4 separate regions of the Homo sapiens genome follow, and regions 1, 3 and 4 are each linked to region 2. Evidence: promoter capture Hi-C in 16 types of primary human blood cells and fetal thymus (Javierre and others, 2016). All regions are on one chromosome and are shown on one strand. The core of a region is centred on a gene start or on the middle of the fragment in contact, and the rest is flanking DNA. Distances in the headings are between cores, read along the strand shown.

The links. The method cuts DNA at HindIII sites, captures the fragments that hold promoters and counts their contacts. A CHiCAGO score of 5 or more calls a contact.
Region 1: the fragment with the promoter of FADD here is called in contact with the fragment with the promoter of LTO1 in region 2 in 17 of 17 cell types (naive CD8 T cells, naive CD4 T cells, naive B cells and 14 more); the score reaches 17.6 in naive CD8 T cells.
Region 3: a fragment that was not itself captured here is called in contact with the fragment with the promoter of LTO1 in region 2 in 16 of 17 cell types (endothelial precursors, megakaryocytes, total CD8 T cells and 13 more); the score reaches 24.2 in endothelial precursors.
Region 4: a contact is called between a fragment that was not itself captured here and the fragment with the promoter of LTO1 in region 2, in 1 of 17 cell types (endothelial precursors). The highest score is 7.7, in endothelial precursors.

What each region holds. Positions count from the first base shown.
Region 1 is chr11:70,199,404-70,206,165 of GRCh38, reverse strand. It overlaps FADD (Fas associated via death domain), which reads right to left and starts at 2,870. Exons shown (of 2, transcript NM_003824.4): 1 at 2,421-2,870; 2 at 1-33. The coding sequence starts at 2,706. RefSeq lists silencers at 2,140-2,331, 2,381-2,460. The HindIII fragment of the contact is 16,091 bases long and covers 1-6,762 here.
Region 2 is chr11:69,672,787-69,679,678 of GRCh38, reverse strand. It overlaps LTO1 (LTO1 maturation factor of ABCE1), which reads left to right and starts at 4,326. Exons shown (of 5, transcript NM_153451.3): 1 at 4,326-4,489; 2 at 6,358-6,463. The coding sequence starts at 4,440. RefSeq lists enhancers at 3,965-4,164, 4,034-4,534 and a silencer at 4,655-4,744. The HindIII fragment of the contact is 5,284 bases long and covers 2,781-6,892 here.
Region 3 is chr11:69,090,469-69,097,288 of GRCh38, reverse strand. It overlaps TPCN2 (two pore segment channel 2), which reads right to left. Exons shown (of 25, transcript NM_139075.4): 25 at 6,692-6,820. Among named protein-coding and RNA genes, the nearest start is that of MIR3164, 11 kb to the right of the region's middle. The HindIII fragment of the contact is 2,289 bases long and covers 3,638-5,926 here.
Region 4 is chr11:69,141,869-69,148,011 of GRCh38, reverse strand. It overlaps LOC338694 (a long non-coding RNA gene), which reads left to right. Exons shown (of 3, transcript NR_104161.1): 3 at 272-784. Among named protein-coding and RNA genes, the nearest start is that of SMIM38, 11 kb to the left of the region's middle. RefSeq lists a silencer at 3,050-3,109. The HindIII fragment of the contact is 5,522 bases long and covers 1-4,882 here.

The sequences.
Region 1 (6,762 bases), core at 1,621-4,120, 530 kb before region 2:
TATCACATATGACGTTAAATGCTGCACACAGGTCTGGGAAGGAAAGAACAGAACGGTTTACCATAGGTTTGGAGACAAGCGACCCCACAATCCTCCCTAGGGCTTTTCAGCACAGACGCCAAGTGCTGAGTGGACAGAGGTGCCTACACGAGGTCCTCTGTAGAGGCTAGAGTCGCCTGGCAGCAAAGGGGCTGCACCAAATGCCCAAGAGTGGCCTGATTCCACCTCAGCCAAACCCCCTGCTCTCTAATACTGTCCTAGGAGGCGTGGCCCACTGAAGACTCAAGTGCCAAAGGAAGTTGTAGTGGAGCTACCTACTTAGAGCAGGAGACACTGAGGGAGGGGCTGGGGAGTTGTGGGAGGGAAGAAAATAGGGTTGATCCCACATCCTGCCCTACAGCAGGCTGAACGATGTCACCCCAAGGTATGTTCACGTGAAATTGCTGAAACCATGAATGTTCTTTGGAAAAAGCATCTTTGCAAAGGTAAGCTGAGGGTCTTGAGAGGAGATCATCCTGGATGACCTGGATGCACCAATGATAGGTATCCTTGCAGGAGACACACAGGGAAGGCCGTGTGAGCCTGGAGTGAAGCGGCCACAAGTCAAAGAATGCCTGGAGCCACCACAAAGCGGACGAGACCCGGAAGGAGCCTCCCCAACAGCATTCCGAGGGTGTGCCGGTCTGTGGCACCCTGCTTATTCAGATTTCTGGCCTCCAGATTGAGGGGGTAGATTTCTATTGCTTCAGGCCACCAGATTTGTGATCATTTGTTATGGCAATCACAGGAAACTAGTAGGCACTCCAATTGTTATTTAGAAAGCTGCCCCGAGTGACCACCAGTCTTCAGTCCCTGGCTACCATACTCCTCATCTGCTGACGTCACCACTGAGATCAGGGAGCTGGTCACAAGACCATAAAAGGCCGCTTCTGGAATGTGAAGAGAGGAAAGGAGAGGCAGGACAGGGTGCTGCTTGGACTACTGGCAATTCTGAGACACCGTTGGCAGGTGTACCAGCTCCCGCAGCTCTGACAGCCCTGTGGGCTGGGCACTGTGTTACCATGACTGTACAGATGAGGAAATTGAGGCACAGGGAAGCTAATGGACATTCCTGAGATCGTGTAGCTAGACGATGGCAGAGCCATGTTCTGAAACCCTAAGAGTGTGGTGCCAGAGTCGACCCTTAACCGCTATGCTGAACTTCTGGGGAGGAAGGCAGAGTCGCCCGCTACCAACCTGTCCATACCCACCGCTCACCTTCTGGTGTACTTTTCCCAGCACACAGTAACTACATGACGATATAAATAAAACCAAGCACACATACATCTCAAATGTCAGCTATGTTTCGTAGACCGCCTTTAAAATGCAATTTATCAGTGTTTTTCCAGACATTAAATATCCATAAAACCCGATTTTTCTACGTCCTGTTTTGTTTGTTCAGTACTGATTTTTTTTAAAATCTGGACTTGACTGCTCTCAGGCAGAGAGCTGTTCTGTCCATCCTGTCCCCAACAGGCACCAGTCTTTACAGAGTGAAACCCATGGTGACACATTTAGGCCCTATCTGATTGGTGACTGAATGGCTGATTCCAAGCTACAGCTTGAAGCCTCTGAGAGGCGTCCCCAGAGCACTCCCAAGCCTCTCCCGACTCTGAGAACAAGGGGGGTAGGGCTGAGAAACTCTGCTGTACTCAGGGTTTCTTTTTTATCCTGGAAGCTGCTGCAATCCACAGGCGAGGGTGGAGAGGGAGTGACCGAGAGCAGGACAGGAAGCCACTCCACAATGAACTTGACCAGAGAGGCAGTGTAGTGGCTAACACTACCCATCCGGAGGCCGGACTGCTTGGCTCAAGCCTAGCTCCGTCAGTTATCGGCTGCGCATTTCGACAAAGCCACTTAACCTGTGAGCCACAGTCCTGTCCTCTGTAAAATGGGAACAGTGATAGCTAACAGTATCTAAGCCACAGGGCTACTGCGAAAATTGTATTTGGCAGTTACAAGGGTAAGCGGCACACTGTAAGCCCCTGGGTAGGAGTTACTGAATGCTAGTATTACTCTCAGACAGCCGTGAAAAGCATATTCCGAGACAGAAAGGAAATGATGCGAGGCAGGCTCACCCAACCTCTGCCCCTCCCCCACACCTTCTCTGACTCATCTTTTCTTCAGTGAGTTTTCTAATTTACCCGGGCAGAAGTGGGTGGAGGAAAAAGGACTGTGCGTGTCCACGCCCTGCAACCTCGAATAAGTTAACTTTTCTGCGTTTCTGGCTCTCCCATCTGCAAAACCAGGGCTGTACGGAGAAAACCCACGCAAATCAAACCCGGCAAAGGGGAGGCGCCTGGAGGCCAACCGGAGGAGCCTCGCAGCACCTACAGCCGGGCGACCAGGCCCTGGCTCCCCCGGCCCGGCCCCGCGCCCACCTTCTTCCCCAGGCGCGGCCCCGGCCGCCGCCCCCGCCTCGAAGTCGTCGACGCGCCGCAGCAGGTCGTGGCGCCGCAGGGAGGCGAGCAGCTCGCGCAGGAGCTCGGTGTGCCCGGGCTCCAGGTCGTTCTGCTCCAGCAGCATGGAGAAGAGGTCTAGGCCGCTCTGCACGCGCTCCAGCTTGCGCTTGCCCACGCGCCCGAGGCATAGGAACTTGAGCTCGGTCAGCTCGCTGCTCGACAGGCTGGACGACACCGAGTGCAGCAGCACCAGGAACGGGTCCATGGCGGGGTCTGCAAGCGGCCGGGGCTGCGGCCCGGCCCTCCGTGCGCCCTCTGTCCTCGGCTCGCTGGCCCTGGCCAGGTCTCGCCGCTTGCCCAGCGGCCCAAGGATTCCACCCCCGAACCTGCACTCCGGTGCCTGATTCACTACAGGAAATCGACAAGAGCGCGTTTTCGACCGTTATCTCGCGAAAACTAAGGGACCCGCGCATGCGTCCCTAGCGAAGCCGCAGCCGTTTCCGCCCTGGCTGGCGGCGCCGCGGACGGGCGCGGCTTCTGCGCCTGCGCCCGGCGTATCGTCTCTTTTCCGGGTGGGAGGTGGGGCCTTGGGTGTCCTGAGAGCCTGCAGGTGGCCCAGCTCTCTGCGGTGAGGGCGGTCGCGCCTCTGCCGAGTCCACCTGTTTGCAAAGCGCGGTGCGGCCCTACTGTGTGCAGGGCCGGGGCGGGGAGGGCGCAGCCCGAACGTCACGTGCCCTCACATCTGTTGGTGACCAAGGTTACTTATGCATTAACGTTTAGGGACAAACGTGGAAAATGCATTCTTTGGTGCCCCTGGAGACATCTTGTGTGTGCAGAAAACACTACTCAGAAGTTTATGTGCGTTTAAACATGTGATTTAAATAATACATGATTTCCAAAGTAGCAGTCGTTTATTCAATCAACAGTATTGAGCGCCTACTGTGCCAGGTAGTAGGGTCTGGGGACAAATTAGTGAGCGAAGCGCGAGGGTCCCCGCGTGCCCGGAGTTTACATCATAATTACAAAAGCGACACGCTCCAGAAGAGAAGGTCGTGGCGGCCGTGGTGGCTCAGCCTGCAATGCCCGCACTTTGGGAGGCTGAGGCAGGATTGATTGAGACAAGGGGTTCGAGACCAGCCTGGGTAACATAGTGAGACCCCGTCTCTATTAAAAAATAAAAATAAGGAAAAATAAGGAAATCGTATAGTATGCCAGAAATTCAGAAGAGCCAGGGGAAAGGGAGTCTCTTCACGGGGTGGGCGTGTGGAGGGTGGGGGGCCCGGTGGTCTGATGGGGCCTCTGTAAAGGCGCAGGTGAAGGCTGGGAGGGGCCGGGTACCTAGGTGTGGGGGGAAGAGCTGGGCACACGGAGAACAGAAGAGCAGAGCACAGGGGACGGCTGGGGTTCCAGGAGCAGCAATGCCGTGGGTCTGGAGGTGAGGAGGGGGTGCAGATTAGGAGAGCCCTCACCAGCCAACAAGGACCCAGCTTTACCACAGGGTGGGGCAGGGGCTGATGCCAGCTGAGTTTGTTTTCTTGAGATATAATTCACATACCATTCAATTCACCCTTTTAAAGTTATACTTCAGTGGTTTTTAGTGTAGTCACAAGGTTGTGCAACCCTTACTGCTGTCTAACTTTAGGACATTTTCATCACCCCAAGAAGAAACCCATTAGCATGTACTCCTCCCCTCCCCCACCAACCACGAATCTACTTTTTTTTTCTTTCTTTCTTTTTTTTTTTTTTTTTGCTGTTTTGAGACAGAGTCTCGCTCTATGGCCAGGCTGGAGTGCAGTGGTGCGATCTGGGCTCACTGCAACCTTTACCTCCCGGGTTCAAACAATTCTCCTGCTTCAGTCTCCTGAGTAGCTGGGATTACAGGTGCCTGCCACCATGCCTAGCTAATTTTTGTATTTTAGTAGAGACAGGGTTTCACCATGTTGGCCAGGCTGGTCTTGAACTCCTGACCTCAAGTGAGCCTCAGCCTCCCAAAGTGCTGGGATTACAGGCGTGAGCCACTGTGCCCTGCCGAATCTACTTTTTAAAATCTATGGATTTGCCAATTCTGGACATTCCATGTGTACAGAACCATACAGTATGTGGCATTTTGTGTCTGGCTGTTTTCAGCATCATTTTCAAGGTTCATCCATGATGTAGAACATATGAGTACTTCATTCCTTTTTTTTCTTTGAGACAGAGTGTCACTCTTTTGTCCAGGCTGGAGTGCAGTGGCACAATCTCGGCTCATTGCAGCCTCTGCCTCCCGGGCTCAAGCGACTCTCGTTTCTTGTGCCTTAGCCTCCTGACTAGCTGGGATTGTAGGTGTGTGCCACTATGCCAGGCTAATTTTTGTATTTTTAGTAGAGACAGGGCTTTGCCATGTTGGCCAGCCTGGTCTCAAACTCCTGGCCTCAAGTGATCCTCTTGCCTCACCCTCCCAAAGTGTTGGGATTACAGGCGTGAGCCACTGTGCCCAGCCTCCTTCCTTTTTATGGATGCATACTATTCCACTGTCTGGGTGTTTGGGTGCCACAGTGTGTCTATCCATTCATCGGAGGATGGACATTGCCTTTGCTTCCACTTTTTGGCTGTTGTGAATAATGCTGCTATGAACACTGAGTTACAGTTTTATTTTGTTTATTTATTTATTGAGACAGGGTCTTGCTTTGTCACCCAGGCTAGAGTGCAGTGGCACAGTCATAGCTCACTGCAGCCTCCTGGGCTCAAGCGATCCTCCCATTTCAGCCTCCTGAGTAGTTGGGATTACAGGTACATACCACCACCCCTGGCTAATTTTCATTTTTTTTTTTTTTTTTTGTAGAAACAGGATTTTGCCATATTCCCCAGGCTGGTCTTGAGCTCCTGGGCTCAAGTGATCCACTAGCCTCAGCCTCTCAAAGTGCTGGAATTTCAGGTGTGACCACCGTGTCTGGTCTTGAGTTACATTTTTTTTTTGAGATGGGGTCTCACTGTGTTGCCCCAGACTGGAGTGCAGTGGCACGATCTTGGCTCACTGCAACCTCTGCCTCCTGGGTTCAGGAGATTCTCGTGCCTCAGCCTCCCGAGTAGCTGGGATCACAGGCATGTGTCACCACATCCGGCTAACTTGCCAGGGTCTGACCCACAGACCTGGGCTGCACTACAGATGAATAATGTACTCAGACACCAGTATTCAGTGAAAGAGCTGGCTAGGGGGCTGGACCTTTCACAAAAAGAGTTGTTCCAGCCCCGCGGCCTGACTAGCTGGTCCTGCAGGCATTTATTCAGCACAGACTTAATGACAAAGGCTTTGAGTCAACACATTTGTGGGTAATTAATCTGGTTGCCCTCCCTCAGAGAGAGTAGTCCTGCCCGTGAATGATCAAAGGTCTGTTTTAGGACAACATGAGTGAACAAGCTATTTAGATAAACTCCTCTACATTCCTATGTATCTACGCCCTAAACTTTTAAGAGAATTCAGCTACCTTCAGCCAAATCTTTTACTGAAGCTATGCAAACCTTCCGGCCTTCCAAGAAAGTTTGTGTCTATTTCCTATAACTTTATCTTTATAATTTCTCCTACCACCTTGACCAATCTCCTGCATTGTGTATGTTTAGCAGAGACACGGTTTCACCATATTGGCCAGGCTGGTCTGGAACTCCTGACCTCAGGTGATCTGCCTGCCTTGATCTCCCAAAGTTCTGGGATTACAGGTATGAGCCAGCGTGCCCAGCTTTTTTTCTTTTTTTCTTTTTTTTTTTTTTTTTCTGAGATGGAGTCTCATTCTGTCACCCAGGCTGGAGCGCAGTGGCGAGATCTCAGTTCACTGCAACCTCCGCCTCCCAGGTTCAAGCGATTCTCATACCTCGAGTTACATTTTTAAAGATCACGCTGGTTGCTGGTTAGAAGCCAGGGGACTACAATAATCCGAATGAAAGGCAGTGCACTCAGACCAGAGGGCAGGTAGCAGTGGAGGTGGTGAGAGAGGGCAGCCTTCTTTAGATTGGGGATGCGCATAAACTAGAGAATGCAGGATACCCTGTAAACTTTGAAGGCTGGTCCATCCATTGATGGAAACCGGGAAGGTGCGGGTGGGGTGGGCTTGAGGGAGGACCGAGATTGGCTTGGGATGTGTGTGTGAGATGCTGCTATGGTTTGAATGTTTGTCTCCTCCATTAATGGGTTAATGGACTGATGAGTTATTATGGGGGAGGATCACACTAAGCTCCCTCATCACGTGATACCCTGCATCGCCTCAAAACTCTGCAGACTCCACAGAGAGCCCCCGCCAGCAGGAAGACCCTCCCCGAAAGTGGACCCTTGACCTTGGACTTCTCTGAC
Region 2 (6,892 bases), core at 3,077-5,576:
CAGGGAGAAGGATATTACATTGTTTATATATTAAATTATGTTTATATGAAAATTCAAGGGAAAAATAATAAAATTAGCAAAAATCAGTTGGTGGACAGGGTGAACTGTTTTTTTTGGCTTGCTGTCTTTCCCTTTTTCCTATATTCCAAGTGTTGTGTGATTTCATTTGCTTATTTAAAAAACCTAAAAATTAAAGACATCTTCAGAACAAAATAATACGAAGTCTATTTAATTTCATCCACCAAAAACATTTTTTTATGCTTATAACATAACTTATGTTCATTGTGCAAACAAACATGAGATGTTCCAAAAAATATAAATGAGGACATTAAAAAAATCACTGTCATTCCAAAATCTAGCTATATTCTCTATGAACATTTTGCTGTACTTGCTTTCACTCTTTTTTCTCTTCCTTTTTTCTTTTCTGGTTTTTTGTTTGTTTGTTTGTTTGTTTGTTTTGTTTGAGATAGGGTCTCGTTCTGTTGCCCAGGCTGGAGTGCAGTGGCACGATCACGGTTTACTGCAGCCTCAATTTCCTGAGAACAAGCAATCCTCTCGCCTTAGCCTCCCAAGTAGCTGGGACTACAGGAGCACACTACCGTGCCTGGCTAATTTTTTCTATTTTTTTGTAGAGATGAAGTCTCACTATGTTACCTAGCTTGGTCTTGAACTCTGGGTTCAAGCAATCTTTCCACCTTGGCCTCCCAAAGTGTTGGATTATACGTGTGAGTCACCTCACCTGGCTACTCTCATTCTTTTGAAATAGTGTTTAGTGTGATTGCAATTCGAGTATATGTAGAGTGTTTTTTTTTCTTTTTCTTTTTCTTTCTTTTTATGTTTTTGAGATGAGATTTCACTCTGTTGCCCTGGCCTGGCTGCAGTGGAGTGGTATGGTCATAGCTCACTGCAGCCTCACATAGAGGATTTTTTTTTCTTTTTCTTGAAATATCATGGGCATTTTCCATGATGTTACTTTTGTTGAAATATTATTTGTAATGGTTGCTTAGGAGTCTTCAACATGAATAGCCTACAATACATGTCATAATTCCACCATTTTGTCAATGTAGCTGCTTTCCTTGCCTTGCCTTTTACAAATCGTGTTGCACTGAACAACACTGTACATAATATTTTGACTTGTCTTTGATTATTTCCTAGAGATGAAGTCTTAGAAGTGAAATGACTAGGTCCAGGGGCAAAAAAAAACTTTTTTATTCTATTTTTGAGGCAGAGTCTCATTCTGTCGCCCAGTCTGGAGTGCAGTGGCACAATCTCGGCTCACTGCAACCTCCACCTCCCAGGTTCAAGCAATTCTCCTGCCTCAGCCTCTAGAATAGCTGGGACTACAGGAGCGTGCCACCACACCCGGCTAATTTTTGTTTTTAGTAGAGACGAAGTTTCACTGTTTGGCCAGGCTGATCTGGAACTGGTGACCTCAGGTGATCCACCCACCTTGACTTCCCAAAGTGCTGGGATTACAGGCGTGACCCACCACGCCTAGCTAGTAAAAACAAACAAACAAACAAACAAACAAACAAACAAAATATATATATATATAATGCCCTTCCTATGTTTTTGAACTGCCTGACCAAGAGGTGTCTTCAATGTATGCACTTGTGCTCATTAAGAGTATCTTTTAATTCTAAAAAAGGAGAAAAAGAACTTAAGCTATTTTAAAAGATAAAAAATGCATCTCATTATTCTTTCTCAGCATTGCTTTGGTTACTAGTGAGGCTGCGTCTGCTTTTCCTGATTGGCCAGCTGTTGCTCTTTCTGTGAATAATGTTTCAAGTCCTTTTTTTTCCCCGTTAGGATGTATTTATTTAAATAAATACATGTATTTAAATAAACTCTTTACCAGAATTATTATTTCTTTAGTTACAATATTTATGACAAATATTTCCCCATATTGTTCTTTAACTTTAAATTTTGTTTCTTATCACTTTTGGTACACACAAGTTTGCATTTTTACATGGTAAAATGTTGGTTTTGCTTGCTGAGAATTCCTTCATGGCTTTTATGTGTTAAAAGAGCATCTTCATACTTGTCTGAATGTTCCACCTAGATTTTTTAATGTACTTTATTTTATTTATTTATTTATTTATTTTTATTTTATTTTATTTTTTTTGAGATAGAGTCTCGCTCTGTCACCCAGGCTGGAGTAGAGTAGCGCGATCTCGGCTCATTGCAAGCTCCACTTCCCAGGTTCATGCCATTCTCCTGCCTCAGCCTCCCAAGTAGCTGGGACTACAGGTACACGTCACCATGCCCCACTAATTTTTTTTTTTTGTATTTTTTGGTAGAGACGGGGTTTCACCATGTTAGCCAGGATGGTCTCGATCTCCTGACCTCATGATCCGCCCGCCTCGGCCTCCCAAAGTGCTGGGATTACAGGCAAAATGTGCTTTATTCATTTATTTATTTAGAGATGGAGTTTTGCTCTTGTTGCCCAGGCTGGGGTGCAATGGTGTGATCTCGGCTCACTGCAACCTCTGTCTCCTGGGTTCTCCTGCCTCAGCCTCCCGAGTAGCTGGGCTTACAGGCATGCACCACCACGCCAGGCTAATTTTGTAGTTTTAGTACAGACGGGGTTTCTCCATGTTGGTCAGGCTGGTCTCGAACTCCCTAACTCTGGTTATCCACCTGCCTGGGCCTCCCAAAGTGCTGGGATTACAGGCGTGAGCCACCGTGCCCAGCCAATGTGCTTAATTTTTTTAAGTTAACTCTTTAACTCATCTGGAATTATTTTGATGAATGGTGTGAGGCATAAATGGAACCAAGCTTTTCCCAAACAACCAATTTTCCATTATAGTTATTAGTTAATATTTCCTTTCTCCAATTAATTTGTAATTCTTCTTTTTACCACATGAGAAGGCTTTACATCTATGAGAGTCCATTGTCTGGGCCATTTACTTTATTTCACTGGTCTGCCACTTCTTGAACCAACATACCACAATATTTATATTGACACTTTATCTTTTCATATCTGATATGAAAATCATTTTTTTCTAAAACATCTTAGTTATTTTTATTAGTTTATTCATACGGATGAAAAAGTTTAGGATTTTGACACATTTTACCAGATCTCATGGAATTTTCTTTGGTACTGCACTTGTTCAGTTCCCCAATCCTCAATCATGGTAGAGCTGTAGTTTTCCTTATATGGGTCCTGCTCAAATTGTTAGAAATTCTTATTTCTAAGAAATGTATTATGACTATCATAAGGCGATTTTCCCATCACCACCCCTGCTCAGGTTACTACCAATTATTGTTGGAATAACAGAAAGTGTTTTTTTCCCTATTCATCATACACATAGCTACTTGCTGCGATTATGGATTCTGAGAACGTCTTAGGTGACTATTTGGGTTTTCCACGTGGGCCATCATATCTGCAAATAGTAGTATTTCTGCCTTTTTTTTTTTTTTTTTTTTTTTTTGGTATTTCCACTTCTTGCTTCATGTTTTACTGCATTGGCCAGGGCTGGTAGAAAGATGTTCAGTGGTCACGTGAGGTTTTACTACTGACTTTATTAGGAATGCTTCTGGTGTTTCTCATCTGAGTTCCGTTGTCGCTTAGACTTTGAAATCCCTTTTTAAAAATCGTGTTCAGAAAGCACATCTCATGGAAATGACAAATATGAGAACTAAAACCGACAAATTTCTGCCCAAAATCCCACATGCAGAGCCTCCTGGCCTGGAGCCTCCTGAGGCGTCGGTTCTTTGATGACTTCCCATTTCTTTTCCCTTTTTTTTTTTTTTTTTGACGGAGTCTGGCTCTGTCGCCAGTCTGGAGTGCAGTGGTGCGATCTCGGCTCACTGCAACCTCCGCCTCCCAGCTTCCAGTGATTCTCCTGCCTCAGCCTCCCGAGTAGCTGGGATTACAGGCGCCTGCCACCATGCCCGGCTAATTTTTGTATTTTCAGTAAAGACGAGGTTTCACCATGTTGGCCAGGCTGGTCTCGAACTCCCGAACTCAGGTGATCCGCGCGCCTCGGCCTCCCAAAGTGCTGGGATGACAGGCGTGAGCCACCGCGCCAGCTGATGACTTCCCATTTCTTCCTTGGTTCTTTCGGAGCCACTTTGGGAAATTCGGTTCTATCTGCAGTGGTAAAATACAGGTCGGCTCTCCACGCGCGCGGCCAATGGACGCTCCCAGCGCGGACAGACAGGCCCTTTGCTGGAGCTGGGCAGGGCGAAAGGACCCCAGGGCGGGGCTTCAGTCGAGGCCGGCCCCGCCCACCGCTGCAGCCGCGCATGCGCCATGTACAGGCTGCTTTGGGCCCTCCCGCGTGCCGTTCTTACCCGGCCTGCCCCGCGCCGCCGCTTCCGGAAGTGGGTCTCGTCTCCTCCCAAGCGGAGCATTTGTGCCTGAAGCTGCCGGGTCTGCTACGGCACCGCGGGGCTGCAGAAACCCGGGGGCCAAGGGCGGGCTGCTTGCCGCTATGGCTGGCAGTCAGGACATATTCGATGCCATCGTGATGGCGGATGAGAGGTGGGTGGTGAGGCCGGGCCCGCACCCCGCCCTGTCTGGTCGTCTCCCAGCGGCTTCGCCGCCGGCTGCGGCCCAGGGCGGCTGCTGGAGCCTGGCGTCCCTTGGGCGTGCGCATTGGGGAGCGCCTGGTGGCCGTGGACGCAGGGACAAGTGTGGGCCTGATGCTCTGGTCCTCTTCTCCTGGCCCGCTCCGGCGGGGCACGTGCCCAGCTGCTCTTCCAGACCCGCCTTCCCTGTCAGGGCTGCCCCAAACATCTGCTCAGCCTGGTGGTTCCCCTCCTCCGAGGCCGCCTCGTCCTCTGGGAGGACAGACCTTTGCCATCTGGGAGCTGCCTTTTTTTCTGGTTCCTTAATCATAGGACATACGGCAGTATTCATGGATGTGCTGATAGATGTACCCGACCACACCCCTTTTCCCTCCAGAGCCCCTGGGGAGCCCCTCGTGCTGCGACAGTGGGGGAGCTGTGAGTTGCCTCCTGGCTGACTTCCAGTGCCCGGCCCAGAGGACGCGTCCATAGATGTTAGTTAAGAAAGCGGCCGAACATTTAGCAGTCAGGCGCTGACGTTTATTTAGCTCGCGCTGTGAGTCAGACACTGAGCTAAACGTTCCACCCTGGTTATCTACTTCAGCCCTACTTAGTAAGTGGATCCTATTATTCTTCGGAATTTACAGACTAGGAGGCACAGTCACTTTCCAGGGTCACACAACTATTAAGTGGGGAGCTATGCACCCTGCTTCATGGGGCGCTGCAGCCCACTCCTTGCATGTTTGGTGACTGCAGGTTAAGATAGTGGCAGTTCCACTGTTGGGCCTCAGGGTCAGTGCTACTCCGGGTACCAGTCGGAGAACATTTTGTGGTGATCTGATGCCATTTCTCTCTGTTGCCCTACCCATGTGATGTCAAACCCTGTGTATGTTGCAGTTTTTTGGAAGCGGTTGACTTGGGCTAGTGCTACTTGAACACTCACAGAACTTTGGCCCCCTAACTCTGGCTGCAAACCAGACTTATCTAGGAGACTTTGAAAAGTAGATTCCGGGCCAGATGCGGTGGCTGACGCCTGTAATCCCAGCACTTTGGGAGGCCGAGGCGGGCGGATCACGAGGTCAGGAGATCCAGACCATCCTAGCTAACATGGTGAAACCCCGTCTCTACTAAAAATACAAAAAATTAGCCGGATGTGGTGGTGGGCGCCTGTAGTCTCAGCTACTTGGGAGGCTGAGGCAGGAGAGCGTGAACCCGGGAAGCAGAGCTTGCAGTGAGCCGAGATCGCACCACTGCACTCCAGCCTGGGCGACAAAGCGAGACTCCATCTCAAGAAAAGAAAAGTGGATTGCAGGCCAGGTGCGGTGGCCCTCACTTGTAATCCCAACACTTGGAGCGGCCAAAGCTGGAGGATCGCTTGAGCCCAGGAGTTTGAGGCTATAGTGAGCTGTGATCATACCACTGCACTCCAGGCAGGGCAACAGAGACCCTGTCTCAAAAAAAAAAAAAAAAAAAAGGAAGAAAGAAAAGTAGATTCCAGGGCCTTGCTCCAGACGTACTGAATCTCTGGGGGTGAGGCTTTTGAGTTAATATCTTTGAATTTTCCTTGTGTGTTTCTAGTACCCTATCAGGTTTGGGAATCCCTAATTTAGCCCTTTGTTGTAGATGAAGAAACTGGGCTACAAGAGGTACAGTGACTTCCAGAGGCAAATAGGAAGTGGTAGATCTGGGACTGGAATCTGTGTCTTCTGACTTGAATTTTAGGCTTTTCCTCCTTTACTCTGGTTTGTCTTACTGGGTCCGGGTAATACAAGAGAGAGAAGTTTTTCTGGAGAAAGTATTCTTTCTCCTGTTGATTTGATGAAGCATGCTTCTTCTTCACAGGTTTCATGGGGAAGGGTATCGGGAAGGCTATGAAGAAGGCAGTAGTTTGGGTGTGATGGAGGGAAGGCAGCATGGCACGCTGCATGGAGCCAAAATCGGGTCTGAGGTAAGTGGGAACCCCCATCTGGAGATGAAGCCTCTTCATTTACAATTTATAATTTATTTCGATATTCAGTGTGATGGAGTAAGAATTGTCAGGCCTTTTAAAATCACAGTGCCGGATGGGCGCGGTGACTCACACCTGTAATCCCAGCACTTTGGGAGTCTGAGGTGGGTGGATCGCCTTGAGGTCAGGAGTTGGAGACCAGCCTGACCAACATGGTGAAACCCTGTCTCTACTAAAAATACTGAATTAGCTGGGCATGGTGGTGCATGCCTGTAATCCCAGCCACTTGGGAGGCTGAGGTATGAGACTCGCTTGAACCTGGGAGGCAGAGGTTGTGGTAAGCCGGGACCGTGCCATTGCACTGCAGCCTGGGCGACAGGATGAAACTCCATCTCCAAAAAATAAACAAAAAAAATCACAGTGCCTTTG
Region 3 (6,820 bases), core at 3,533-6,032, 580 kb after region 2:
CCTCACTCTTCACTCCACTCTGCACTTATCAAGGTCATTACCACAGGACACGGGAAAGGAGAGAGGCCATATGCCCACCGCCATCCTGAAGATTGAGAGCTAAGGACATGAGTGTAGAGAGGCCGGTGGTCCACCCAGACCGCAGTCACTATGGCTGAGCCCAGGCCTGGAAACCGAGGAGCCGCCCCATGGGAAGTCCGTGGCCACAGCTTGGGGCTGCAGGCAGAGTGGCCCTGGGCTCACGCTCTACCTTGCCACCTGTCTGCATGGGTCCCTGAATCTCCTTGTGCCTCAGTCTCCTCACCTGCAAGATGGGGACAGTGACCCCACATGCAAGGAGCTCCAAGGGTTGAACCTGGTGGTTGAAGCTCACAGCCCATGCCGGGGTCGCTAGCTCGGCTTCCTCATTGCCATTCTCCCAACAAGCCCACTCGCCTCCCTTTCCAAAAGACAGGACAGATGCCAGGAAAAGCCGATTTCAAGTCCAAGACCACAGCCAGTAGCAGGCAGGACCCAGGCCAAGCCTCAGACTCTAGGCCAAGTGTCACCTGCCACCTTCCACGGTGACACACGGAGCCACTGGGACTGGCTGGCCACCCTGCCGTGGTGGGCAAAGGGCCGTCCTGGGAGTTGCATCTGACGCTGCAGCATTGGTTCAGCGAGTGTTTATCCGGGGCTAGGACAAGCCAGGCACGCAGAGCTCACGTTTCCACCCAGAGGTACCAGGGGGTGGAAAGCAGAGAAGGTTGGGGCCGGGAGGAGCAGCGGCAGCACCATTCACCAGCCAGGCAGCCTTGGCAGGTTATCCACCTTCTTTGATCCTCAGTTTCCCCATCTGTCAATAGGGCCACAGCGGGTGACTCTGTAAGATTAAACACATCCATCTGCCAGCCTGCAGGTAAAGGGCTCCAGAAAGCACCTAGAGGCCAGCAGGCCCCCAGCAACATGACTTCCGTCTACCAACCAATTATCACTATTATTACTCTCCTGAGATTCCTTTTAAGGGAAATGAAATGCAGACAATGGGCATGTGTTCCCTGCCTTCAACACTAGAAGGTGCCTTCATACCCTTCACCCCCTGGGCCTCCCACCATGAACCTTCAAAACACACGGAGACCAAATCGAGGCTTCTGTGGGTCCTGGCTCACATCCCGATGTTTCCCAACATGGTGCTGGGGTCACCAACGCTGGGTGGTAGCCTTCTCCAGGCCTAGCCCACCCAGGGATGTCTCCGCCAGGAAGGGCAGGGCTCACCAACAAGACCCGTGCCTCTTCAGGTAGAAACCTTTTCCCTTTTCCCAAAGGCCCTCAGGAAGCTCCAAGCTGGCCTGGAGTAACAGTGGGTCTTCGGGCTTCATATCCAGCCTCTTCCTCCTCCTCCTGGTCCCAGCCTTTTCTCTGCTGTCATCCCCCTGGTACGTCCAGGTGAGAACGTGAGCGCCCCATGCCTGGCTCACAGTAACCTCAGATAAACACTGACTGCATGCTACAGCACCAGATGTAAGCTACCTTCTGTTCTTTCTGGCATTCGATGGCATGCATATCTACAAATTTCTCCACATCACAAGGCCTCACAGGGTGAGTGGAGGGGCTCAAAAGCCCAGGAGCATGGAGCTGGGGGATGGGAGGCATCAGCCGGGAACTTCCAGACCCCACAGAGGCCGGGACCCCATCTCTGCTCTCTTCATGCTCAGGGGCTCTTGCTGATACCCGTGCCCCTGAGTGTGGCAGGGTCCGGCCAGGCTCTCCACATCCAGTCGTGCACCCTGCACACATCCCATAGCCAAGGCAGATGGGCCAATGTCCTGCCTGGCTCCTACCGGCCAAGCCACGTGTCCGCCAGTGTGGCCGGGGGCACGGCAGCACTGAGCAGCCAGCACTTTTCCCTGATGCCCCTACCCAGAGAGGCTGGGTTCATTCCAACCACCCAGAGAAAGGGCCTTTCTGTAGCTGCTCCTCCCAAAGCACTGCTAGTTTCAAACTGGCCCCTAGCAGCTCTGGGTGCTCCTTACAATTTGCCGAAAGAAAAGAAGGGAAGGAGGGAGGGAAGCTGGCGCTCCTAGGCCAGTCGACCCCCACATGTGGCCCCTGCCAGCAGCAGCACCTGAAACTTTTCACACGTGTACTTCCTCAAGCCTGGCCATCTCAATCAGAAACTCTGGGGCAGAGCCTGGGAATCTGCATTGTCAACATTCCCCAGGGAGTTCTGACGCACGCTCATGTCTGAGGGGCGCTGGCAGACACCTGCCCGGCACTGCATAGGTCTCAGCTTCAGAAATAAGAACCACTCTATAATGTTCACCATGGACTTGTGTTATTGGGCCCCCGCCCACCTCACAAGTCAGTGTGCCCGTCAGCTGTGCTTAAAAAGGCCACAACCTGCAGGGCCTGGGAGGCAGGCAGGCAGGCTCACCTGGCAACAGGTGCTGCTGGGGCCCAGGCCCAGGTGTGGATTAGCCAACTGTGGTCGGAACTGTGGAGGCACCCAGGCCTACCCAGAACCCCCACAGGTGTGGGTCCCACCACCCTGTGAGGCTCCGATTGAATTACTCAGAAGAATAGCTGGCCCCCCACACACACCCTGAAACGTGAGTAGAGGGCTGGGGAGAGGCGTGCAGGAGGCTGTGCCCGCTGCCCTGGGCCGTCTGCTGGCCACTTTGATGTGAGGAGTGTTGTCTGGGCTCCACGCCTCCTCTTTGATTTTTAGGAGCAGTGCAGTGTGCCCAGTCCCATTTGGTGGTTTTTAAGCAAGAACTCTTCTAACCTTTTCCTAAGAACCACTAATTATCTCAGGCGGGAAACCCAATCCAAGCCGTTCTGGCAGTAGGGAAGATTCCCCCTGCTGTGCCCAGCTGGACAGAGACCACATGAAAGGCCCCAGCCTGCTCGCTAAGACCCCGCTCCCAGGCCCCAGCGACAGACTGGGCATGGGTCTTGGACCCCATCCAGCCACCTGCACTGGGGACAGCATGTGGGAGGGAACCTGGGAGAGGAACCTGATGGCCACTGAGTGCTCCCACTAGTGATACCAGGCCTGCGGGGCCGGCAGAACTGCTGCTCTGGTCAGCCCTGTGCTTGAGCCCTGGGGGCAGAGGACCTGCCAGCCCGGCCCTGCCCAGCCCTGCCAAGCCCCGCCCCACTTCTGCCCCACTGCTGCCCCTGGCACTGCACCTCCTGCCACTGCCCAGCAACGTCCCTGTGGCTGACCCCTGCCTGGCCTCCTCATTCCTGCTTTGTCACTTCTCTGGCTCTTCCCTGGGTCTTCCACATCAGTCCACACAGGATCCTCCCACGTGAAAACCACCACAATATCCTCTTGACCCCGCCTCCCCTTTGCAGCGAGATTCCCTGAGGGCCGTCCATCCTCACTGTCTTCAGTGCCTCTCCTCTCGCTCTCCTTTTAATATTTGGCACATGCAAAAGAACACATGTAACATGTGCATGTTCCTAAGGTTAATACCATGACCATGAGCCCTGCCCAGCCCCGCCAGGACAAGAACTTCCCCTGGAACTTGCTCATGGCAGTCAGTCCCTTCCCATCCCATCCCCATTTCCCCAAGAGGTGGCCGCTCCCTGGACCATAGGCTTCTGGCCATCTTGTGTTGAAGTAATCTCAGCACTAACCAGACCATAAGCTTCTGGCCGTCTTGTGTTGAAGTAATCTCAGCACTGACCGGACCATAGGCTTCTGGGCGTCTTGTGTTGAAGTAATCTCAGCACTGACCAGACCATAGGCTTCTGGGAGTCTTGTGTTGAAGTAATCTCAGCACTGACTGGACCACAGGCTTCAGGCTGTCTTGTGTTGAAGTAACCTCATCACTGATGTATGCGTGCCTACATGGTATGTTGTTTAACCTTGCTTTTGAATTTTACATGAATAATACCGTGCCGTGTGGAGACTTCTGGAACTTGTTCACCCAACATTATGTTTCTAAGATTCTTCCAGGTAGCTCTTTGCAGCTGGAGTTCATTCATGTTCACGGCCGTGTAATACTCCACTGTCACCAAGCTGCAGCGTACCTGTCATTCTGTTGAGGACGTTTCAGCTGGCAGATGTGTTGCTAGTACTGATACTGCTCTTAGGATCACTCTGCCGACCGTCTTCCAGTGCACACGGGCAGCAGTTTCTCTTGTGAGTGTATCTAGCAGAGAATTACCAAGGTATGTCCTATTCAATTGCAAGAAATGACACCAAACAATTTTCCAAAGAGGTTGTTTCAGCTTAGCTTGACTCTTCAGAATAAACATGTAAGTACTAACAATTAAGATGGTCCAACCTCTTCCATTTTGACCATGGAGTGAGTGAAATGTTGTGTTTCAGTTTCATTTTGCATATTCCTAATAACTAGTAAGACGGAGCAACTTTTGACATAGCTATGGAACCCGGGTGTTTGCTTTTCTGTGAAAAGCCCAACTTTCTACTGCTTTGTCTTTTTCTTCCTAATTTGTAGGTACTCTTTATGTGGTCTGGATATAAGTTCTTAGTTGTTCTCAGTTACCAAAATCTTCTCCCAGTGTGTGGCTTGCCTATTTTATGGCCTTTTTTAAAGAAAGAAGTTCTTAATTTAAATATATTGAGTTCATCTTCTAAACGTTCTAAAACTTGCTTTTCACACTTAAGCCCGCCTCCAGTCGGTATGTACTTTTGTGTTAGGTGTGAAACAGGGAACTTATTTCTTTCTTTTCCCACCTGGGCTGGAATTTCTGGCAGCATTTATTAAATAACAATCCCTTCCCTGCGGGTTTGCTGCCATCCGTCGCAGTTCCGCATTTGTGCAGGGCTCCCGGGCTCTCTCCCCTTAGCCGATCCGCCCCTTGCGCCGGTGTGCGGGGCTCCCGGGCTCTCTCCCCTTAGTAGATTCGCCCTTGCGCCGGTGTGCGGGGCTCCCGGGCTCTCTCCCCTTAGCCGATTAGCTCCTGCACCAGGACCACACTGCTGTGGCTGCTGTCCCAGCAATGTAAGTCAGGAATAATGGAGCAGCAATTCCCTCAACTGGATTCTCCCACAGAAAGGATTTTTGCTCTTGTTTTTGTACTTTCATGTTAATTTTTCAATCAACTTATCAAATTTTGTGGGAAAAAAATGGCATTATGTTTAGAATTATAATGAATGTATGGATGAAATTGGAGAAGGCTGACATTTTTACAATATCAATTCTTTTTGACCATGAAGATAGAAAAACTGTGGTGGCCAGAATTCCAAGATGACCCCAGTGATCCTTACCCTTACATAATCTCCTCCCGTGAATAAGTCACTCCCGGAATTGGGATATGTTAGGTGGCACACAGGACTTTTAAGGATGGGCAGTTGTCCTGGTGGGTCTGACCTAATCAGGTGAAACTGTAAACCACACAGGCTTTTCCTAGAGATTCAAAGGGTGAGTGGGAGTCAATGTGAGGCAGCTTCTTTGTTGCTGACTTTGAAGATGGAGGGGACCCTATGGCAAGGAATGTGGGTGGCCTCTAGTCCCTAAGAGCAGCCCCTGGCTGACAGCCAGCAGGAAACGGACATCAGCCCAACACCTGCAAGCAACTGCATTTGGCCAACAACCCAAGTGAGTATGGGAGCAGACTCTTCCCCGGAGCTCCCAGAAGGAACCCAGCCCACTGACACCCCAATTTCTGCTGAACGGAGGACCTACCAAGCCGTGCCTGGATGTCTGACCTGCAGCTTGGAGCTAAGAAATGAGGTTGTGATAAGCTACCAAGTATGTGGGGACTTGTTACACAGCAACAGAAAACTACATAGTCTCAATTTACTTGTATCTACAGTCATGGGCTTTAATGAAGTTTTATAGTTTTCTGTATATAGGCCTTGAATATCTTTCCTTCCATTTATTTTTAGAAACTTTAAGAATTTTTAATCTTATTTAAATATCTTTTAAAAAATGAATATAACTGAATCCTTGAATATAATTTATAAGCTTATTGCTAGTGTCTAGAAAAGCAATTGATTTCAGTATATAATCTCAGGGCAGGCCAGGTGCAGTGACTCACACCTGTAATCTCAGCACTTTGGGAGGCCAAGGTGGGAGGATCACTTGAGCCTAGGAATTCAAGAATAGCCTGGGCAACATAGAGATACTCCATCTCTACAAGAAATAAAACAATTAGCCAGACCTGGTGGCATGTGCCTGTAGTTACAGCTACTCAGGAGGCCAAGGTAGGAGGACTGCTTGAGCCCACAAGTTGGAGGCTGCAGTGAGCCATGATCACACCACTGCACTCCAGCCTGGGTAACAGAGCAAGACCCTAAAATAAATAAATGAATAAGTAATAAAGTAAAAACTTTTTAAATCTCATAGCAAACAACTGTGCTGAATTCTTTTTTTTTTTTTTTTTTTTTTTTGAGACGGAGTCTCGCTCTGTCGCCCAGGCTGGACTGCGGACTGCAGTGGCGCAATCTCGGCTCACTGCAAGCTCCGCTTCCCGGGTTCACGCCATTCTCCTGCCTCAGCCTCCCCAGTAGCTGGGACTACAGGCGCCCGCCACTGCGCCCGGCTAATTTTTTGTATTTTTAGTAGAGACGGGGTTTCACCTTGTTAGCCAGGATGGTCTCGATCTCCTGACCTCATGATCCACCCGCCTCGGCCTCCCAAAGTGCTGGGTGAATTCTTACTATTCTTAATAATTTTGGCTTTTCTATGTAGACATCATATTTGAGAATAAAGCATTACGTTTCTTCTATTGCTGTTTTTATGTACTTACATATTTATTGCATCTTAATGAGGCAGGACCCTCAGCAGCATGTAGATTTTGCTGTTGCTGATTGTAAAGGCCCTGACAGTGACAACTTCCATTTGGAAAGCTGTTTGCTGAA
Region 4 (6,143 bases), core at 872-3,371, 530 kb after region 2:
AAACCCTGTCTCAACTAATAATACAAAAACCATTAGTCAGGCATGGTGACATGCTCCTGTAGTCCCAGCTACTTGGGAGGCTGAGGCAGAAGAATTGCTTGAACCCGGGAGGAGAAGGTAGCAGTGAGCCAAGATCACGCCACTGCACTCCAGCCTGGGCGACAGAGCGAGACTCTGTCTCAAAATAAATAAATAAATAAATAAATAAATAAATAAATAAGCCAGGGCATGGTTTGCAACGTTCTCTTTTCCCTCTTCCTTTTCCTTCCAGGAAGGAGGCTGCCCTGCCTGGAGTGAAGAGTGCATGGAGCAGTCTCAGCCGACCCAGGTGGGATGCGTAACATGGCCGAGAAATCCACCCATGCTGCTGAGAGCTACTGCGCCATGGGGTCATGTGTCACCTAACTGACTTAGCCCAGCCTGACTGATCCCCCGTGTGTGACCAGACATCAGCACATTCAGAGGACCTCATACTGAGAATTGGTGGACCTTTCAGAATGGACATGACCACTCAAAGTAGGGACATTACTCGCTATTTGATGGCCCATGTGGGATCAAAGGCCACTGGGGTTCCCTCAAGGCACAGCACACTTAGAATCCCATAAGTCCTCAGTTCTAAGGCATGTATTTTTCATACTTTGATAATTCTGAAATCAAGTATAGCTTCTAGTAGATATTAAAACTCATTTTCAGATCCTGCAGAAAGGAGGAGACAGAAATAAAGTTGCCATTCCCTGCTTTTGTATGAACCCAGCTGAGCATAAACCGTAATCTATTCAACCTCTACCGGGTGTTTGCCTTGCGTCCCCACACGTGGTTGACTCATAACCTAAGTTTGAATCCCTAATTTTCACTTTAAATAACTTCAGCTACTCGGGATGCTGAGGCAGGGGAATCGTCTGAACCCAGGAGGTGGAGGTTGCAATGAGCCGAGACTGCGCCACTGCATTCCACCCTGGGTGACACAGCAAGACTCTGTCTCGGGAAATAAAATTAAATTAAATTAAATCAAATCTTCAAAAATATTGCAGTACAATGCAGCACTGAAACAAGAAGCTGTTGTGTATGTGAGATTTCCTGTCCCACATTGGGCAATGCAACTGAAGGCAATAGAAACCAGGACATTGCTCAGAATATGCCATAAAGCTCCACCATGCTAAGAGTTTAAAAAAAAGAAAAGAAAAGAAAGAAAGAAAAACAGAAAACCAAAAATAAAAGAAGAAAAATAAAGCTCCACCGTGCAGCTGGAGATGTTAGCATGAATAACCTCTAGATGAACATAATCTATCAAAAGGTTTTTGCTGTCAGAAGAAACAACAGAAAGTAGAATCAGACCCAGACCTGTCAAAATTATCAGAATATAATATAAAATAAGCATGATTAAAGGATTAAGAGAAAATATTTAAAACATAAAGAACAAGAGATTATAAAATGACCAAGCAGATTTGGAAAGACCTAAATGTAATTCCAGAGATGAAAATATATTAAGTGATACTAACAGATGGTCAGACATGGCTGAAAATTATGTTGGTGAACGGAAAGACAGATCTGAGCTATGGCCCAGAATACAGCACAGAGAGACAATGGGAGACAAGAAGGAGCTGCCAAGAGGCATGAGGGGTGGAGTAAAAGCTACACTGTATGGTCCTAGGAGCTCCAGTAGAAGAGAATAGAATAGGGCAAAGGCTAGATCTGAAGGGGAAATGGCTGAGAAGTTTTTAGAACAGATGAAAAACATCAATCCCCAGATTTGGGCATCCCAAAGAATCCAACCTAGGATGAGTGATAAGCAATCCATAGCTGGGGACATCATAGTGACACCATACAATACCAAGAGGTGTTTTTAAATGTACCTGGGATTTTGTTTTAATCAGGTACATTAACATGACAGACATGGAGACAGCTGCCTTAAAAGAAGTTTATTACTTACAGTTCCCAGGAGCAGGGGGCATGCCATGCTATGCAGTCTACATGAGGAAGGACGAGGGTTGGTCAGGAGGCAGAGGGAGCAGGGGAACACAAGGGGAGACTTTACTATCACTACTATTACTATTGACATAGTAATAATAGTAATAAAGTACCATAGTAGTCAAGACTCTCCCCTTGGTGGTGGAAAGTTAAGTGAGGGTGTCTCCTATGGGGCAGAAGGCAAAACACAGATGTTGGGGGTTGTGGCCAGAGGGTTTGTGATATGATTTTTGTGCACCCATGAAAACACAAGGATAGTAAGGATAGAAACAAGCCTGGCTATAGTTTGGCTCATGATTTCAAGATACCAAATTACAGGACATCAAGAATGATTATTACAGTGGAGTGTAGCTTAGAAGCAGCCAGAGAGGCAAGGTTGGCCCACAGCTGACTTCTCAACAGCAATGGATGAGCGGAAGACAGTGGAATGACATTTTTAAGGTGCTAGAGTGAAGTGACTACCTAGAATTGTATACTCAACCAAAAATGTTTAAATAAAGACACATGCTAGAGGTTTCTCTTGGGAACATACCTACGAGTATATACGCTTAGCTGAAGGGAATATGCATCTGGCTTCATGGACGCTTCCAACAATAGCTTAGTTGGGGTTCCTTCCAGTTGCTTCTGTGAAATTAAAGAATTCAGACTTAAAGCTGTTGGAACTGTATTCAGAGCCTTGAGAGGAACATGGCTATGCAACTTGAGTCACATGGAATGCAACTGCAACTTCTACCTTTTTTTTTCCCTATAAATAATTAAGAAGACCAAACGACTTCAGAGATAAGAATCCCTTGAATTTCTACCCCTCCTCATGGAGTAATAAAGTATTTTCCTTGGAATGCAGCAATCTGTAACCGATCAAGTCACTGTACGCACTGATCGTGTATGAAAAATGTTGTAATCCTGCTGAAATTTCTCTGTCTCTGCCTATGTAAGAGAAATCTTAACTTCTCCACTTTGAAACAGTGACCCCATTTGTTTGGAGTCAGTGTTGCCCAAGTGGCTATCCTCATGCTTTGGGCTCAAAGAATCTCTACATTTAATCATAGTTTCTGAATCTCACTGTTTAAGGTTGACACTTCTCATCCTCACCAACACGGGCTTTTGAGTGCTTGCCAAGCTGGTGGGTGAGACATAGTGTCTCGGTATAGTTCGGGGTTGCATTTTCATATTGACTTTTCTTATGCTGATTGCCTTTGGGGTTTCTTCTCTTGTGAAGTACCAGTTGAGTCTTTGGTTGTTTCTTTTTCTTAGGAATTTGTAGGCATTCTTCATTGTATTAACCATTACTTCTTTTTCCTGTATTCTGATGCTTTGACATCTGGGAACGTGCTGACCCTGGAGGGATGGCCCCTCCCAGGATTAGCCAATTTCTAGAAATGAAGTCATCTGTGAGTGCACCTTTCAAATGTAAACCAACTAACTAATCCAGAGCTCACATTTGCAACGACCTCTTCTATCAGGTTCTCATACTCAGGGCTACCATCCTCCTGCCATAATCACCCCAGGGCCAGGTACCAGACAGGCAGGGACAGTCCCTGTGCCCCAGAGCCTGTAACATTATTCAAACTAGCCCATCCTATGCCTACTTGCCCTGCCTCACTCGTTTTTTCCTACAGAAACCACAATCAAGGCTCTTGCCCACACTTTCCCCTTAGTCCCTATCCCTCCAGACCAACTCCCCTGCTTCCCTGTGCCCCCCATCCACCCCGGGGTGCAGCATGTCCCCTCCCCTGCAGATCTGTGAGTAACAAACTATCTTTTCAATAATGGTTATCTCCTGATCTGTTGGCCTCATCATATCTGAATAATAATAAAACCTATAGCAGCCGGGCGTGGTGGCTCACACCTGTAATCCCAGCACTTTGGGAGGCCAAGGTGGGTGGATCACGGGGTCAAGAGATCGAGACCATCATGGCCAACATGGTGAAACCCCGTCTCTACTAAAAATACAAAAATTAGCTGGGCGTGGTGGTGCACGCCTTTAATCTCAGCCACTTGGCAGGCTGAGTCAGGAGAATCACTTGAACCCGGGAGGCAGAGATTGCAGTGAGCTGAGATCATGGCACTGCACTCCAGCCTGGTGACAGAGCGAGACTCCATCTCAAAAAAACAACAGCAACAACAAAAAAAATTTTTCTTCATACAAATTATTTGTCAGTTCTAAGCATTGCAGTATCTTCTCCCAGTTTGTAGTTTGTCTTTTCATGCTTCTTATGGTGTTTTTTGTTGGTTGGTTGGTTGGTTGGTTTTTGAAACAGTCTCGCTCTGTCGCCCAGGCTGGAGTGCAGTGGCACAATCTTGGCTCACTGCAACCTCCACCTCCCAGGTTCAAGCAATTCACCTGCCTCAGCCTCCCGAGTACCTGGGATTACAGGCATGTGCCACCATGCCCAGCTAATTTTTGTATTTTTAGTAGAGATGAGGTTTCGCTGTGTTGGCCAGGCTGGTCTCAAACTCCACACCTCAAGTGAGCCGCCCGCCTAACCTCCCCAAAGTGCTGGGATTACAGGCGTGAGCCACCGTGCCTGGCCCTTACCATGTTTTTTGATGAACATAAACTCTAAATTGTAATGTGGTCAAATTCATCAATTGTACTGAAGGCCCCAACTGGGACAATAAGGCAAAAAAAATAAACTCATAAAGACTGGAAAAGAAGACAAAATCCTGTCATTATTCACAGATAACGCAATTATCTATGTTGAAATTCCAAAATAATCTACAAACAAGTTATTCAAAATAAGAACAGACTCTACCAAGGTTTCGAGTTAGAAAGTCAGTGTGGGAAACTCAGGAAGAAAGTACTGCCCATTACTGTCTCTTGAGGACCTGAGGCTTCATCTCTACAAACACTTCCCCAATTACAGAAGCCAAGGGAGGGACATGTGGCATGTCCCAGACAGCTCTTAAAGCTTCTCTCAGGAGGTGACACACCCCACTATGCTTGCACACCATTGGCCAAAACAAGTCACGTGTTCAAGCCTAACAAATGTGATTGGATAGTCAGTCCCATGATTAGGTTACACCATATAAGACTCCATCATAGCCAAGTGGAGTGAGATTCTTCTGCTGGTTTTGAAAAAGTGAGCTACCATACTGTGAGAGAAGAGGCCACAGGTTAGAATCTGAGGGCAACCTCTAGAAGTTGAGAGTGTCTCCAGCTGACAGCCAGCAATAAAACAAGGACTTCAGTTCTACACCAAAAGCAACTGAATTCTGTCAACAACCCCATGAGCTTGGAAGCATATTCCTCCTCAGAGCCTCCAGTTGGGGACCACAGTCCCAGCCGCCATCTTGATTTCAGCCTTGTGAGAACCCAGGCAGAGAACCTAGCCAACCTGGACTTCTTGCCCTAGAAAACTGTGAGCTAATAAGTGGGTATTGCTCTAAGCCACTAAGTTTGTGTAATTTGTTATACAGCATAGATGACTAATACAGAATTTGGTGGAGATTGGAAATCCTACCATGTGCCTGAACTATTTAAAGCTGCAAATACTGTGGTAAGAACACTAATGATCACCATAGGCTCCTACCTCATACCTCACCCAAAAATCAGTTTCAGGGGTTTAACAGTTAAACATCAAAGGCAGAACTATGAAACATTTAGAGGACAATACAGAGTAACATCTTAGAGCCTCGGGGGCAGGGACATCTTAACAACACATAAAAAGTACCAATCCTAAAGGAAAACAATGGACTAATTTGGTCGATGTATTTTTAGGCAAATGAAAATTAAGATGTTTGCACTAATTAATGCCAATAAAGACAATTCCAAAGGATATATTTCAGGTCAAAGAGAAATTACCACAGAAGGAATATGTAAGGTGCAAGAAAAGATTGTGTGCAAAGAGCATGGGGAACATTTGGGGAAATCTAAGCAAACCTGACCAAATAAAACAAGAAAAGTCAGGTCTGCTTGTCGAAGTCAAAATTAGAAGTAAACTGTATTAGGTCCGTTCTCACGCTGCTAATAAAGACATACCCGAGACTGGGTAATTTATAAAGAGAAGAGGTTTCATTGACTCACAGTTCTGCATGGCTGGAGAGGCGTCAGGAAACTTACTGTTATGGGGAAGGGGAAGCAAACACATCCTTCTTCACGTGGCAGCAGCAAGGAGAAGTGCTGAGCAAAAGAGGGAAGCCCCTTATAAAAACATCACATCTTGTGAGAACTC